Linked DNA regions of Homo sapiens: region 1 is linked to region 2. The links are contacts of gene promoters, found by promoter capture Hi-C in human tissues and cell types (Jung and others, 2019). All regions are on one chromosome and are shown on one strand. The core of a region is centred on a gene start or on the middle of the fragment in contact, and the rest is flanking DNA. Distances in the headings are between cores, read along the strand shown.

Region 1 (6,554 bases), core at 1,146-3,645, 200 kb after region 2:
GGCCAAGCGCAGTGTGGTTCACACCTATGATCCAGCACTTTGAGAGGCTGAGGCAAGAGGATCACTTGAGTTCAGGATATGGAGCAACATAGCCAGACCCTTTCTCTGCAAAAAATAAAAAACACCCAGGGAGTGGATAGGGGGGACGTAAGCAGAGAACACTGTCTGAGAATAAGTTTCAGCGCATAGGCCGTCATGTGCAATTTTGGTGAAGAATTCTCTCCAAGGTCGTCTTACATGAATGCTAAATGGTAGAGCAAGGACAACGGAGGTGACATGAATAGTTCTGGCATCTGAGGGCCTAGCCCTGTGCCCCAGCAGAGAGGGGAGCAAGGACACCTGTCCTCTGTGGAGGTTCTATGAGAGCCCATGTTCCAGGACAGTCACAAACTTGTTTCCAACCAGAATTCGCAAGCAGTGTCAGTCCTGAGAGAGCAGGAAGCTTGATCCCCTCTTTGGTAGGTGCTGGACTTAGTAAGTCAGCTTCAGCAGGCCCTTGGGATTCCCCCGGCCAGTAATCTTTTATCCTGTACAAGAGCCATCTGGATGTAGCAAACTGCAGTTCACTCTTTTGCAGGGTAAGGGCTCAGCTGGCTCAGTGGGACACAGGCTTTAGATGTTCATGATCCCTAATCGTGTCTCACGTACATGAGCTTTCTCTCTTTCCACTCAGATCCAGGGTACATGACTATGTGAATGTAAGATATGCCTCTGGTATGAAGGAGACCTTGGCACAAACGTGTGGTCCATCTTGTGGTTCTAGACAGTGTTTCCCAAACTTCAGTCATTATCATGCCACCATTATATGATTGTTTCCATGTCCACAAATTGTGCCTGTCAGCATTTATTTACTTACTTATTTTATTTTTTTGAAATGTAGTCTCACTCTGTCACCCAGGCTGGAGCGCAGTGGTGCGATCTCAGCTCACTGCAACTTCCACCTCCTGGGTTCAAGTGATTCTCCTGCCCCAGCCTCCTGAGTAGTTGGGAATACAGGCGCCCGCTACCATGCCCAGCTAATTTTTTTGTATTTTTAGTAGAAACAGGATTTCACCATGTTAGCCAGGCTGGTCTCAGTCTCCTGACCTCAGGTGACCCACCTGCCTTGGCCTCCCATAGTACTGGGATTACAGGCATGAACCACTGAGCCCAGCCAGCATGCATATATTTAACAGTTTTTATTGCAATCAACTCCTCCTTTTTTAAAACTTAAATTTAGTTTTAAGGAAACCTTGGCTGGGCACAGTGGCTCATGCCTGTAATCCCAGCACTTTGGGAGGCCAAGGCGGGCGGATCACGAGGTCAGGAGATCAAGACCATCCTGGCTAACACAGTGAAACCGTGTCTCTACTAAAAATACAAAAAATTAGCCGGGTGTGATAGCGGGCGCCTGTGGTCCCAGCTACTTGGGAGGCTGAGGCAAGAGAATGGTGTGAACCCAGGAGGCGGAGCTTACAGTGAGCCGAGATGGCACCACGGCACTCCAGCCTGGGCGACAGAGTGGGACTCCGTCTCAAAAAAAAAAAAAAAAAAAAAAGGAAAGGAAACCTTTACATCACTTCTTTAAATACAAAATTAGTATCCATTGGCATAACTAACAGGTACCCATAAAAATAAATACAGGCCGGGCCTGGTGTCTCACGCCTGTAATCCCAGCACTTTGGGAGGCTGAGGCAAAAGGATGGCTTGAGCCCAGGAGTTCAAGACCAGCCAGGACAACACAATGAGACCCTGTCTCAATCAATCAATCAGTCCATCTATCCATCCATTCATACATACATACATTCAAAGAAAATAGTTGCCGTCACAAAAATCTAGCTGAATGCTGTTCCCTGTCAAAGGCTCTGGGACTCTGGCCCACTTTCTCTTAAGGCTATGCCAGCCGGCCAGGCGCAGTGGCTCACACCTATAATCCCAGCACTTTGGGAGGCTGTGGGCAGATCACCTGAGGTCGGGAGTTCGAGACCAGCCTGACCAACACGGAGGAACCCTGTCTCTACAAAAAATACAAAATTAGCCGGGTGTGGTGGTGCATGCCTGTAATCCAAGCTACTCGGGAGGCTGAGGCAGGAGAATTGCTTGAACCTGGGAGGCGGAGGTTGCGGTGAGCCAAGATCACGCCATTGCACTCCAGCCTGGGCAACAAGAGCGAAACTCCATCTCAAAAAAACAAAAAAGAATATGCCAGCCTTGGCCAGGTACAGTGGCTCACATCTGTAATCCCAGCACTTTGGGAGGCTGAGGCACACGGACCACTTGAGGCCAGAAGTTCAAGACCGGCCTGGCCAACATGACGATACCCCATCTCTGCTAAAAATATAAAAATTAGCTGGGTGTGGTGGCACATGCCTGTAATTCAAGTTATTCTGGACACTGAAGCATGAGAATTGCTTGAACCTGGGAGGCGGAGGTTGCAGTGAGCTGAGATCGCGCCACTGCACTCCAGCCTGGGTGATAAGAGACAGACTCTGTCTCAATTTAAAAAAAAAAAAAAAAAGCAGCTTAAAAAATTACTAAAGAAGGTCGGGCACAGTGGCTCATGCCTGTAATCCCAGTACTTTGGGAGACTGAGGCGGGTGGATCACGAGGTAGGTCAGGAGTTCAAGACCAGCCTGGCCAAGATGGTGAAACCCCATCTCTACTAAAAATACAAAAATTAACTGGGCATGCTGGTAGGAGCCTGTAATCCCAGCTATGCGGGAGGCTGAGGCAGAGAATTGCTTGAACCCAGGAGTCAGAGGTTGCAGTGAGCTGAGATCACGCCACTGCACTCCAGCCTGGGTACCAGAGTAAGACTCACTCTCAAAAAAAAAAAAAATTATTAAAAAAATAATTAAAAAAAAAAAAAAAAAAGAATATGCCAGCCTCATGGCCAGGCACAATGGCACACACCTGTAAACCCAGCACTTTGGGAGGCTGAGGTGGGAGGATTGCTTGAGCCCAGGAGTTCTAGACCAGCCTGGGCAACATGGCAAAACCATGAAAACTGTCTCTGCAAAAGAAAAATAATAATACAAAAATTAGCTGGGCATGGTCTCACACTCCTGTAATCCCAGCTACTCAGGAGGCTGAGGTATCACTTGAGCCTAGGAGCAACAGTGAGCTATGATTGTGCCACTGCACTTCAGCCTGGGTGACAGAGCAAGACCCTGTCTCAAAAAAGAAAAATAAAATAAATAATGCCACCCTCAAAGTAAGGCTTTCTTGTTGGCAAAAATCAGGACTAAAAGAGGAGTTTAAAAGGAACAGTGTTTCAGTGTGTGTTTCAGTGCTGTTTGGTAAAATTGGCTTGTGTGCCCCATAGTAAGCATCCAGTACTTTGGGAAACATTATTCTAGGGACTTATCACCAACATGCTGCATAACCTTTTGAGACAAAATATGATGGTGTTTTGCTGGCACCCTGCCATTGGGCACAAGGGTCAAAGCCGTCACCTCTGGAGCTGACCTGTCAGCTCTGAATCTTAGCTCTCTTGTCTGGTAGCTGTTGTGCCTTCCAGCCAGGCCTCCACCTCCCAACCTCTGTTTCTCCATCTGTAAGAAGGGACTGAATTGCGCAGTCAGTGTTCACAGGGTTGTTATGAGGGTTGATTCCAGGCTCAGAACTGCGCCTGGAACATAGCCAGTGCTGCATAGTAATTACTGTTACTATTTTCATTTGCCTCAGGAAACTTCTTGTGGACCACGGACATGGCAGCCTGCGTGAAGGAGCTTGTTTTCCATCTCCTGGCAGAGCTCCTGCGCACGGTGCACACCCTGGAGCAGAGGCGGCACCCCGCTGGCCTGTCCTCCTCAATCGCCCTCCAGCTGAACCCCTGCCTGGCCATGCTGATGGCCTTGCAGTCGGAGCTCCACAAGCTGTACGACGAGGAGACGCAGAACTGGGTCTCAGGCGGCGCCTGCGGGGGCTCCGGGGGGGCGGCGGCCGGTGACCAGGGCAGGTTCTCTACGTATTTTCATGCACTCATGGAAGGGTGCCTGGCTGTGGCCGAAGTGACCCTGCCTACTAACATGAGTGTCACAGCCAGTGGGGTGACCTCAGCGACCGCCCCAAATCTCAGTGACTCGTCCTCCTCCTCCTCGTCCTCCCCAGGACAGACCCCACAGAGTCCCAGCCTCCTCTCCAAGAGGAAAAAAGTCAAGATGAAGCGGGAAAAGGCCTCCTCGTCGGGCAAGCGCCAGTCTTCCCGCACCGTGGACTCGGACCCCACCGTGCTCAGCATCGGAGGCAGCAAGCCCGAGGACATGCTGTGGTTCCACCGCGCACTCACCCTGCTCATCATCCTCCGCCACCTCACCAGGAAGGACCCACAGGGGCTGGGCGTGACGAGTGACGCCATCGCCGATGCCTGCCAGGCCCTGGTGGGCCCCACCGCCCACAGCCGCTTGCTGGTGATCTCCGGGATCCCCACCCACCTGGACGAGGGCGTAGTCAGAGGCGCCATCCGCAAGGCCTGCAACGCCCACGGCGGGGTCTTCAAAGACGAGATCTACATCCCGCTGCAGGAAGAAGACACCAAGAAGCCAAAAGACAAGGCCGAGGGCGGGGACGGGAAAGTTGAGCCCGAGAAGACACTGGCCTTCCCCGGCACAGACAGCATGGAGGTCAGCACGTCCAGCAGCCTGACCCCCGCCATGAGCATCAGCGCCTCCGCCTCCACCAGCCAGGCCTCCATCTGCAGCTCGCAGGGCATCTCCCAAACCGTCAGCGACCTCTCTGTGGATCCGCTGCCTGCCGGCCTCGAGCTGCCCATCCCTCCGGGCCTGTTGGAGCCCCACGCGGTGTCCAGCCAGGAAAGCCTGGACATTTCCCTGTGCAGCACCGGCAGCCTGGGCAGCCTGGGCAGCCTGGGGGAGCCCCTGGACAATGCAGAGACGGCCTCGGTGTCGGACATGGGCTCCATGTACACAGTCACTTCCCTGGACAACCAGCCCCTCGCCGCCCGCCCCATCAAAGGCTTCGCAGTCGTGGAGGTAACAGCTTTCAAGCCTCTGCAACCACTAAATCATGACCCATTTCAATCCCCCAAGCCTCTTTAAATCTTCCAAAGTTATTTCCTAGTAGGTAATGGTGGAGCGGTTGGGGGCTCCCTGGGGCAGCCCTTGGAATGAGCACAGTGAGGCTGCTTGGGGTAACGTCTCTGAGTGACACCAAGTCCCATATCACGAAGTAAAGGGGAGCCAGAGGGCTCAGGGCCTGGCCTTCCGCGGTGGGTGGGCGCCATCAGTGCATTCTGACTCAGCCCCATCGCATCTTGAATGGCCTTGGGTTCTTTTTGTTCTTTTTGGTGTTGCCATTGGCAGGAGGGATGGTCACTGAGCAGCATGAGAATAGACTCCTGCCATTCTGTCCCAGGTGATTCTGAGTTTCAGATGACCTGCATGCTAGTGAGTCATAGTTCCACTTCAGGATCCCATGTATTCCTTAGGCCTCGCCGTTTAGAAATCCTGCATCAGAGCCTTTCTGTGCTTTTGCATAACAGTAAGGTAGGGAACTGACATGCATTACTCTCCCAGCAGGCTCTGCAAGGAGGGTTGAAGGATCAAGCAGCTGGTTTCTTTCCTAGAATCACTTCTTTGAATCCATCATCCTCCTTCATGGGGACTTCCTCAGAGTTAGGCATGAATTTTTCCTCCCTGGGAATCAGAGTAAAGCCACAGACCTGGCTGGGGTTTAGTGACAGAGATTTCAGGTTGAGTCATTTGCTAAAAGTCACTGTTGTTGGCCTGTGGGAGAAAGTTTCCCAGGAGGTCCAGCTCACCAGAGTAGGGCAGCTTTCACATCTCTGCAGATGAATAGAGGGTTTCCAGGAAAAGGTGGGAGGGAGAAGTTCACTCACACTGAATGACTGGTCAAGCTACTCAAATCCTGACCCTGTTCTCTGTTCACACAGATAAGATCCCGAGCCAAAATTGAGAAAATTCGAGCAAGTTTATTTAACAATAATGACTTGATTGGTTTGTCAAGTTTGGATGGTGAAGATGAATTGATGGAAATGTCAACAGAAGAGATTCTAACCGTGTCTGTAGTAAATCAGAGTCTCTTTGATACTCAAGGGAGCCCAGGGTTAGAAGATTATTTCAATGATAAGTCAATTAAAGGTGGGTTCTGGATTTGTTTTTAATCTGTAGACTTTTTGTGGAGCAATTTTAGGCTCACAGAAAAAAATCTGCATTAAAATCTCCTCCCCTCCCCAGTATCCCCTATTTTTAACATCTTGCATTAAAGAGAAATTTGGCAGCTACTCCTGGGTTGCAGATTTTGAAAACAATTCAGAGAGTGTTGGTGAGATGGCACAAGAGGCTCCATTGTTTGTCAGTGGGGGCTGGTTATGTGCATCTTTGTATGATGTGAAAAGAAATGTTCCCCCTTCTCCCAGCTGTCAGGGCGCTGAAGGCCGTGGGGGCAGCCCCTGCCACAGGCCTGCCGCGTTCCAGCTGGAGAGGCTACCAGGGGTGGCTTTGCGCCGCCTGCAACAGGCTTGAATGTGGGCTTGTATTCAAGTCATTTTTTCCTTTTTGTCTAGCCAGCCTTCCCCTGGTTCAAGTGCAGTG
Region 2 (7,353 bases), core at 488-2,987:
TAATTTTTGTATTTTTTGTAGTGACGGGGTTTTGTCATGTTGCCCAAGGGGGTCTCGAGCTTCTGGGCTCAAGAGATCTGCCAGCCTTGGCCTCCCAAAGTGTTGGGATTACCCACGTGAGCCACTGTGCCCGGCCATAATATTCCATCTTATGGATATATCATATTTTAGTTAACCAGCCCCATATTGTTGGACATCTAGATTGATAAGTTTTTCCTTTTGTAAACAATATTGAGCTACACAACCCTGTATATCCATCCTTGACTACGAGTCTGATTATTTCCTTCAGACAACTTCCTCAAAGTTGAATTGCTGGATCAAAGGGTATGCACCTTAATGTTCTCCTGTTATTGTTATTGTTATTATTATTATTATTATTATTATTGAGATGGAGTCTTGCTCTGTTGCCCAGGCTGGAGTGCAGTGGCATGATCTCGGCTCACTGCAACCTCCGCCTCCTGGGTTCCAGCTATTCTCCTGCCTCAGCCTCCTGAGTATCTGGGACTACAGGCATGTGCAACCATTCCTGGCTAATTTGTGTATTTTTTTTAGCAGAGACAGGGTTTCATCATGTTGACCAGGCTGGTCTCGAACTCCTGACCTCAGGTGATCTGCCCACCTTGGCCTCCCAAAGTGCTGGGATTACAGGTGTAAGCCACTGTGCCCGGCCTGTTTTATTATTTTTTAAGTGATAAAAATATACAAGTAATAGAGAACAATCTCATCTCAGTAGTTCCAGACCAGCCCCACACTCCCATGGCAACTCACCTTAAACATCTGGTGTGTATTTGTTCATGCATTGTTCTTTATACATATAGTTTTCCTTTCTTGTTTTTATAAAATGGCACTGGTGGGCATATATATATTTTTGGTGGGGAGGGAGGGATGGGGTCTCCCTCTGTCGCCCGGGCTGGAGTGCAGTGGCAAGATAATAGCTCACTGCAGCCTCCACCTCCTGAGTTCAAGAGATCCTCTTGCCTCAGCCTCCCGAGTAGCAGGACTACAGACGCTTGCCACCCTGCCCCGCTAATTTTTATTTTTTGTAGAGATGGGGTCTCCCTATGTTGCCCAGGCTGGCCTCAAACTTCTGGGCTCAAGCAGTCCTTCTGCCTTGACCTCCGTGCTGGGATTACAGGTGTGAGCCACCGCACCCGGCCTAGTGAGCATATTTTTAAGGTGTATGTCAATTAGTGTGGAACACTGATGGAACGAACATAGCAATAATTAGAATTGCCACTCATGGAGCACATATTAAGTGTCGGGCATTGAGCACCAAGCATTGTGGACAGACGCTTTATTTTCACCAGGTTTTGAGTGCTTACTGGGTACTAGACTTTTCAGTCAATATTAATCATCTACTATGTGATTCTACCAAGTGCTTATGAACAAGTGTGCAGCGCCTATTCTGCGCCAGCCTTTTGCTTGCATCTCATTTAAACGTGAAAACAAGGAGTGATCTCTATGCTCTGCCCAGGGTGGGGGCGCGGGCCCGAGCAAGGGGTGCACACCTGAGTAGGGACAGGACGGGGGAAGCGGCGTCCTCTTCCCTGGCGCGCTGCAAAGCCAGGGCTACCCTGAATGGCCAGGGGGAGAAGGGGCCGGCGGAGGTCAGGCCGAGGGCAGGCGGCAGCGAAGGGCTAGGCGGACGTCCAGGCCACCCGGGTGGCCTCGTCCGCGGAGCGGTGGGCGGAGCGGCGGGCGGGGCCTGTATTGTCCGCTCCGCGAGGCATGCCGGGAGCCCCGCCCCCAACATGGCGTCTCACTGACAGTTGGTTGCCGAGCGGCAGAGGCGGATCCTGCTCCTGAGGGCGGCGGCGGCGGCGGCGGCGGCGGCGGCGGCAGGGCCGGGGTCTCCCGGGCCGGGGTCGGGGGTATGGCGACTCGGACCGCCTAGGGCGGAGTTGCACGGGCGAGGCAGCAAGTGGGGCGCCGCTGGCGGGCGCGGCGGCCGCTGCCATGGACTGGTGATCGCGGCGGCTCCTGCTCCGTTTCCCCCGGCCGGGCGTCTGCTCCTCAGCGCCAAGCCTTCAGCCGGGGCCATGGGCTCGTCGGCGGCCGCGGCGGCGGCGGCGGCGGCGGCCGCTGACTCGGCGCAGTGGCTCTCGGTGAAGGAAGAGACCATCTTCCTGCACGACGGGCTGATCCGGGTCACCGACCTGGCCGAGCTGCCCAGCGAGATCCTCGGGGCCCCAGAGGCCGCGGACACCGACCTGGAGGTGAGCGAGGCGGCCCCCGGCCCCCGCCATCGGACTGACCCACTCGCCCGGCACCCCCGGGTCGGGCCCCCTCCTCGCCTCAGCCGCGGCCTCGCCTCCCGGCGGCTGCCGGGGCAGGTGTGTGTGGGCGCGGGGCGGGCAGGTGGGGCCGCGGCCGCAGGTCTGCGGACCGCCCGCCCCGCTCTCCCTCCCTCCCTCCTCGGGGCCTGGCGCCCGCAGGGGATTTCATTTGTGGTTTTCTTTTGAGCGTTCCGACACCCGGCATTTTATTAGGCTAGCGCCTGGCTCGGCCTTCATGCCCCAGAGGAGCCACCGCCACCACCCGGGCCCTCCCTCCCCTCCCCCACGGGCCCCCAGGACCCACTTCCAGGGCACACCCAGGTTGCTTAGCTTTGGGAACATTTTGATTTTCACGCTGTGTACCCTCCCATCCTTTTCTTCCCTAGTTCTGTTTTTTTTGTTTGGTTTGGTTTGGTTTTTTTCCGGGAGAGGGTAGTGGCAGCTGCGGGTCCGCGATGGGCAATCCAGCAACTTCTCTGTGTTGTGTCTCGGATGGATTGACACGGGGCCTTTGTCAGGGAAGCGGGCGCTGTGGACAGCGAGAGGGATGCTCCAGCGGCCCTCCATGCACTCTCGGGGAAGGGTCACTGGCGCGTTAGGCCGCAGGGCCTTTTTGTGTGCCCCGGGGGTCGCCAAGCATCCCGGGTTCAGAGCCGTGGCAGGTGCAACAGCAGATCTCATCAGTTGAGCTGCTTGGCCTTGGGGGCAGAAGGGAACCAAATATGCCTGGTTGGTGGGAACTTTCCATCGACTTCACTTGGGTTCGTGTTTGCCTAGAGGTGGGAATACTGGCAGTGTCGTTTCATGGAGGCCAACGGATGCTGACACTGCTCCCCTTCCACTTTGTGGGATGACATTTTGATGTGTAGGTAGCATGGGGTGTCATCAAATTTTTACTGCCGTAAGGAGAGCTTTCTGGGGTAGGGCGCAGAGAGGATGGCCTATCTTCTGGCTATAAACGGCATGCGAGGGATCTTTTGTGTTTTGCGGTTTTGCGTGCAGTTTGGCTTTACGCACAACGAACATTTATAGAAATGAATTAAAAGCCATTACTGTGTGTTTCTGGAAACGGCAGTGATCGGATCACATTGGCCGAGACATTTGGACGTGCTTGAGATGCGAATACGTTCCACTGTATTTTTGTGTCTGGATTTGCGGTTGCTTCAGCACTTCCGTTATGAACTCTTAATTGACTTATTTTACAATCTAGTCACCAAAAAGAGGAGGATATGGTTGGTAGGGAATTCCTAACATGGAATCATCGTTTTATTGTGTCTCATTTGGGCCTGTTCTATAACAAGCAAGGTGTGTCTGAGTGTCTTATCTGCCTGAAAACTCAAGGGGTATTATGCTATGATAGTGGAATCTTTTGATTTAATTGGCTGTGTTGTGTGTGAAAGGTGGAAAGTGGATGCTCTTTGTTTCTTTCTTTTCTTTTTTTTCCCCCGAGACCGAGTCTTGCTCTGTCGCCCAGGCTGGAGTGCAGTGGCGCGATCTCAGCCCACTGCAGCCTCTGCCTCCCGGATTCAAACGATTCTCCTGCCTCTGCCTCCCGAGTTGCTGGGATTACAGGCACGCGCCACCATGCCTGGCTAATTTTTGTATTTTTAGTAGAGACAGGGTTTCACCATGTTGGCCAGGCTGGTCTCGAACTCCTGACCTCAAGTGATCTGCCTGCCTTGGCTTCCCAAAGTGCTGAGATTACAGGCGTGAGCCACTATGCCGTGCCTATGCTCTTTGTTTCTTAAAGACTAATCCAAGTTCACAGAACCAAAATTTATACATATATGTCATTTATGTAGTTTATTTTTAGGATTAGAAAGAGTAGGATTAGTTAAAATATCTGTGATGTTGGTTTTCCTAAAATGTTTATAAATGTATTGCGTGAATTTGTCAGCTATTTCCACAGAAGAATGGTTTTCAAAGGAAAGAACCTCTCTGGCCTGCTAGATTTTTTTTTTTAATTGCTTTTTAAATTTATGGTCTGATTTCTCAGCAACTAGTATGTGTATGGGTGATAAACATTTATGACTGGTAGTAGTGAATAACTTGTTTCATTCTTTCCATGTTATACAGGCTCCATGGTATCAGGAGAAATAGATAGCTAAGAATGTTTTTGTGGCTATTAGATTTGTGTTTGTGTGGGTGTATTCACATATATATATATATATATAAAAAATCTTTTTATTTTTTATTTTGAGACAGGGTCTCTCTCTGTTGCCCAGGCTAGAGTGCAGTGGCTCCATCTCAGCTCACTGCAACCTCCACCTCCCGGGTTGAGGCAATTTTCCTGCCTCAGCCTCCCAAGTAGCTGGGATTACAGGCATACACCACCATGCCGGGCTAATTTTTGTATTTTTAGTAGAGACAAGGTTTTGCCATGTTGGCCAGGCAAGTCTCGAACTCCTGACCTCAGGTGATCCGCCTGCCTTGGCCTCCCAAAGTGCTGGGATTACAGGCATGAGCCACCATGCCCAGCACATATTTAATTACTTAATAATATTGATTAAATGTATCCTACATGTCAGGCATTATTTTATTAAATTCTCAAAAGAGCCTAACAATTGGAAATATTGCACTCATTGTACAGATGAAGGAAGTGCAGAGTAGGTATTCGACTTGTTCAAGAGCACATGAAGAGCTTGCACGTTAACCTAGTTCTGTTCACTGCACATCTGCTCCTCATCATAATATTTTATTGCCTCCATGCATGTATAGTATTTTTATTTGCAATTATTTTAAATTTCATAACTGGCTACAGAAGGAAGAATCTCTATTTTCTTTTAGTAACTGTTTCTTTTTCATATTTGAGGAAGATTCGTGGTCTATTAATTTTTGGTTTTTTTTTTTGAGACGGAGTCTTGCTCTGTCGCCCAGGCTGGAGTGCAGTGGCACAATCTCAGCTCACTGCAAGCTCCGCCTCCTGGGTTCACACCATTCTCCTGCCTCAGCCTCCCCAGCAGCTGGGACTACAGGCGCATGCCGCCACACCCAGCTAATTTTTGTATTTTTAGTAGAGACGGGGTTTCACCATGTTAGCCAGGATGGTCTCAATCTCCTGACCTTGTGATCCTCCCGCCTCGGCCTCCCAAAGTTCTGGGATTACAGGCGTGAGCCACAGCGTCTGGCCGGTTTATTAATTTTTTAAAAGCTATCTTTTGAAATACCACCACACCTATGAAATACAGTGTTTCAAGCCTCTCCTTCCAGTGGACATCTGGGTGAATAATGGCCATTTTCCACAGAGTTTTATAATATATAGAATCCTTCAGTTAACACTTTCGGATTATGAGGAACGGGACTCAAGTTGACTAATTATGACTGGCAACCTTACTGCAGAAGAGTGCAATAGACGTCTTAGAATTTTACGCCGGTCGCAGTGGCTCATGCCTGTAATCCCAGCAATTTGGGAGACCAAGACGGGCGAATCACAAGGTCAGGAGATTGAGACCATCCTGGCTAACACAGTGAAACCCCGTCTCTACTAAAAAAAAAAATACAAAAAATTAGCCGGGCGTGGTGGCGGGCGCTTGTAGTCCCAGCTACTCGGGAGGCTGAGGCAGGAGAATGGTGTGAACCCGGGAGGCGGAGCTTGCAGTGAGCTGAGATCGCGTCACTGCACTCCAGCCTGGGCAACATAGCGAGACTCCGTCAAAAAAAGAAAAAAAGAGTCTTAGAATTTTAGAGCAGAAGAGACTTTAGAGATAATAATGTCCCTCATTTTAGAAAGAAGTTCTCTGAGATCAGGAGATCTCAGTGATCAGAAGATGAGGTTATGACTTAGTCACTATAGCATAGCTAGTTGTGGCAGGGCAATGACTAGACCCTAGCTTTTCTACCTTTGGATTCCAGTGTTCTGTTCACCCTGTAAGCGCTGCTCAAAGTCAATCTAAAGAAAGAATCCCTCCTAAGAAGTAGATCAACATGAATTTAGTATTTTAATTTAAGCAGATCCAGAGTATTTGAATTAAAATTTTTCTTCCCAGTAAATTCTTTTTCTTTCTTTCTTTCTTTCTTTTTTGAGACCGAGTTTTATTCTTGTTACCCAGGCTGGAGTGCAGTGATGCGATCTCGGCTCACTGCAACCTCCACCTCACGGGTTCAAGCAATTCTTCTACCTCAGCCTTCCAGTTAGCTGGGATTACAGGCATGTGCCACCATGCCCAGCTAATTTTGTATTTTTAGTAGACACTGGGTTTCACCATGTTGGCCAGGCTGGTCTCGAACTCCTAACCTCAAATAATCTGCTTTCCTTAGCCTCCCAAAGTGCCGAGATTACAGGCGTGAGCCACCGCACCCGGCCTCTTCCCAGTAAATTTCTAAACAGATTTTTTTTTAAAGCAATAAATAATGTTTAATCAACTAATTCATTCAACAAGTATTGGTGGAATTTAGAGTGAGCTGGGCCAACCGTCCTGGATGTTGGGGATATAGCAGTGGATAAAATAAAATCCTTGTCCTCAAAAAGCTTATAATTTAGTGGGATGATATAGACAATGACAAATATGTAACATGACATAGAGGCAAATGATAAGTGCTAAAGAGAAAAGTATAGCTCAGTAAAGAGATGGAGAGCATTGGAAAGAGGGCTCCGTTTTTTTGTTTTATTTTTTTTTTTTATTAGAGTTGGGGCCTTGCTATATTGTCCAGGCTGGTCTTGAATTCCTCTTGGCCTCAAGTGATCTTCCCACCTGAGACTCCCAGAGTGCTCAGCATGAGTCACTGCACTCAGCCAACTGTCCTGTTTTATTTTATCTTATTTTTAATTATTTATGTTCGAGACAGAGATTCTTGCTCTGTTTCCCAGGCTGGAATGCAGTAGTGCCATCTCTGCTCACTGCAGCCTCCACCTCCCGGGTTGAGGCGATTCTCCAGCCTCAGCCCCCTGAGGAGCTGAGATTACAGGCACGCACCACCACGCCTGGCTAATTTTTGTATTTTTAGTAGAGATGAGTTTCACCATGTTGGTCAGGCTGGTCTTGAACTCCGGACCTCAGGTGATCTGCCCACCTCCGCCTCCCAAAGAGTTGGGATTACAGGCGTCAGCCACTGCACCCAGCCTGTCCTGTTTTATATA

What was found. The method cuts DNA at HindIII sites, captures the fragments that hold promoters and counts their contacts. A contact is called where the count stands out against the background at its distance.
Region 1: a fragment that was not itself captured here is called in contact with the fragment with the promoter of HECTD4 in region 2 in 3 of the 25 tissues and cell types used here (IMR-90 fibroblasts, dorsolateral prefrontal cortex and lymphoblastoid cells).

The regions. Positions count from the first base shown.
Region 1 is chr12:112,182,606-112,189,159 of GRCh38, reverse strand. It overlaps HECTD4 (HECT domain E3 ubiquitin protein ligase 4), which reads left to right. Exons shown (of 76, transcript NM_001388303.1): 61 at 3,667-4,973; 62 at 5,894-6,101. Among named protein-coding and RNA genes, the nearest start is that of MIR6861, 23 kb to the right of the region's middle. RefSeq lists enhancers at 4,028-4,597, 4,598-5,166 and a silencer at 5,621-5,915. The HindIII fragment of the contact is 8,527 bases long and covers 1-6,554 here.
Region 2 is chr12:112,376,815-112,384,167 of GRCh38, reverse strand. It overlaps HECTD4 (HECT domain E3 ubiquitin protein ligase 4), which reads left to right and starts at 1,737. Exons shown (of 76, transcript NM_001388303.1): 1 at 1,737-2,216. The coding sequence starts at 2,040. RefSeq lists silencers at 1,417-1,706, 1,817-2,086, 2,097-2,586 and enhancers at 1,594-2,093, 3,279-3,779. The HindIII fragment of the contact is 28,101 bases long and covers 1-7,353 here.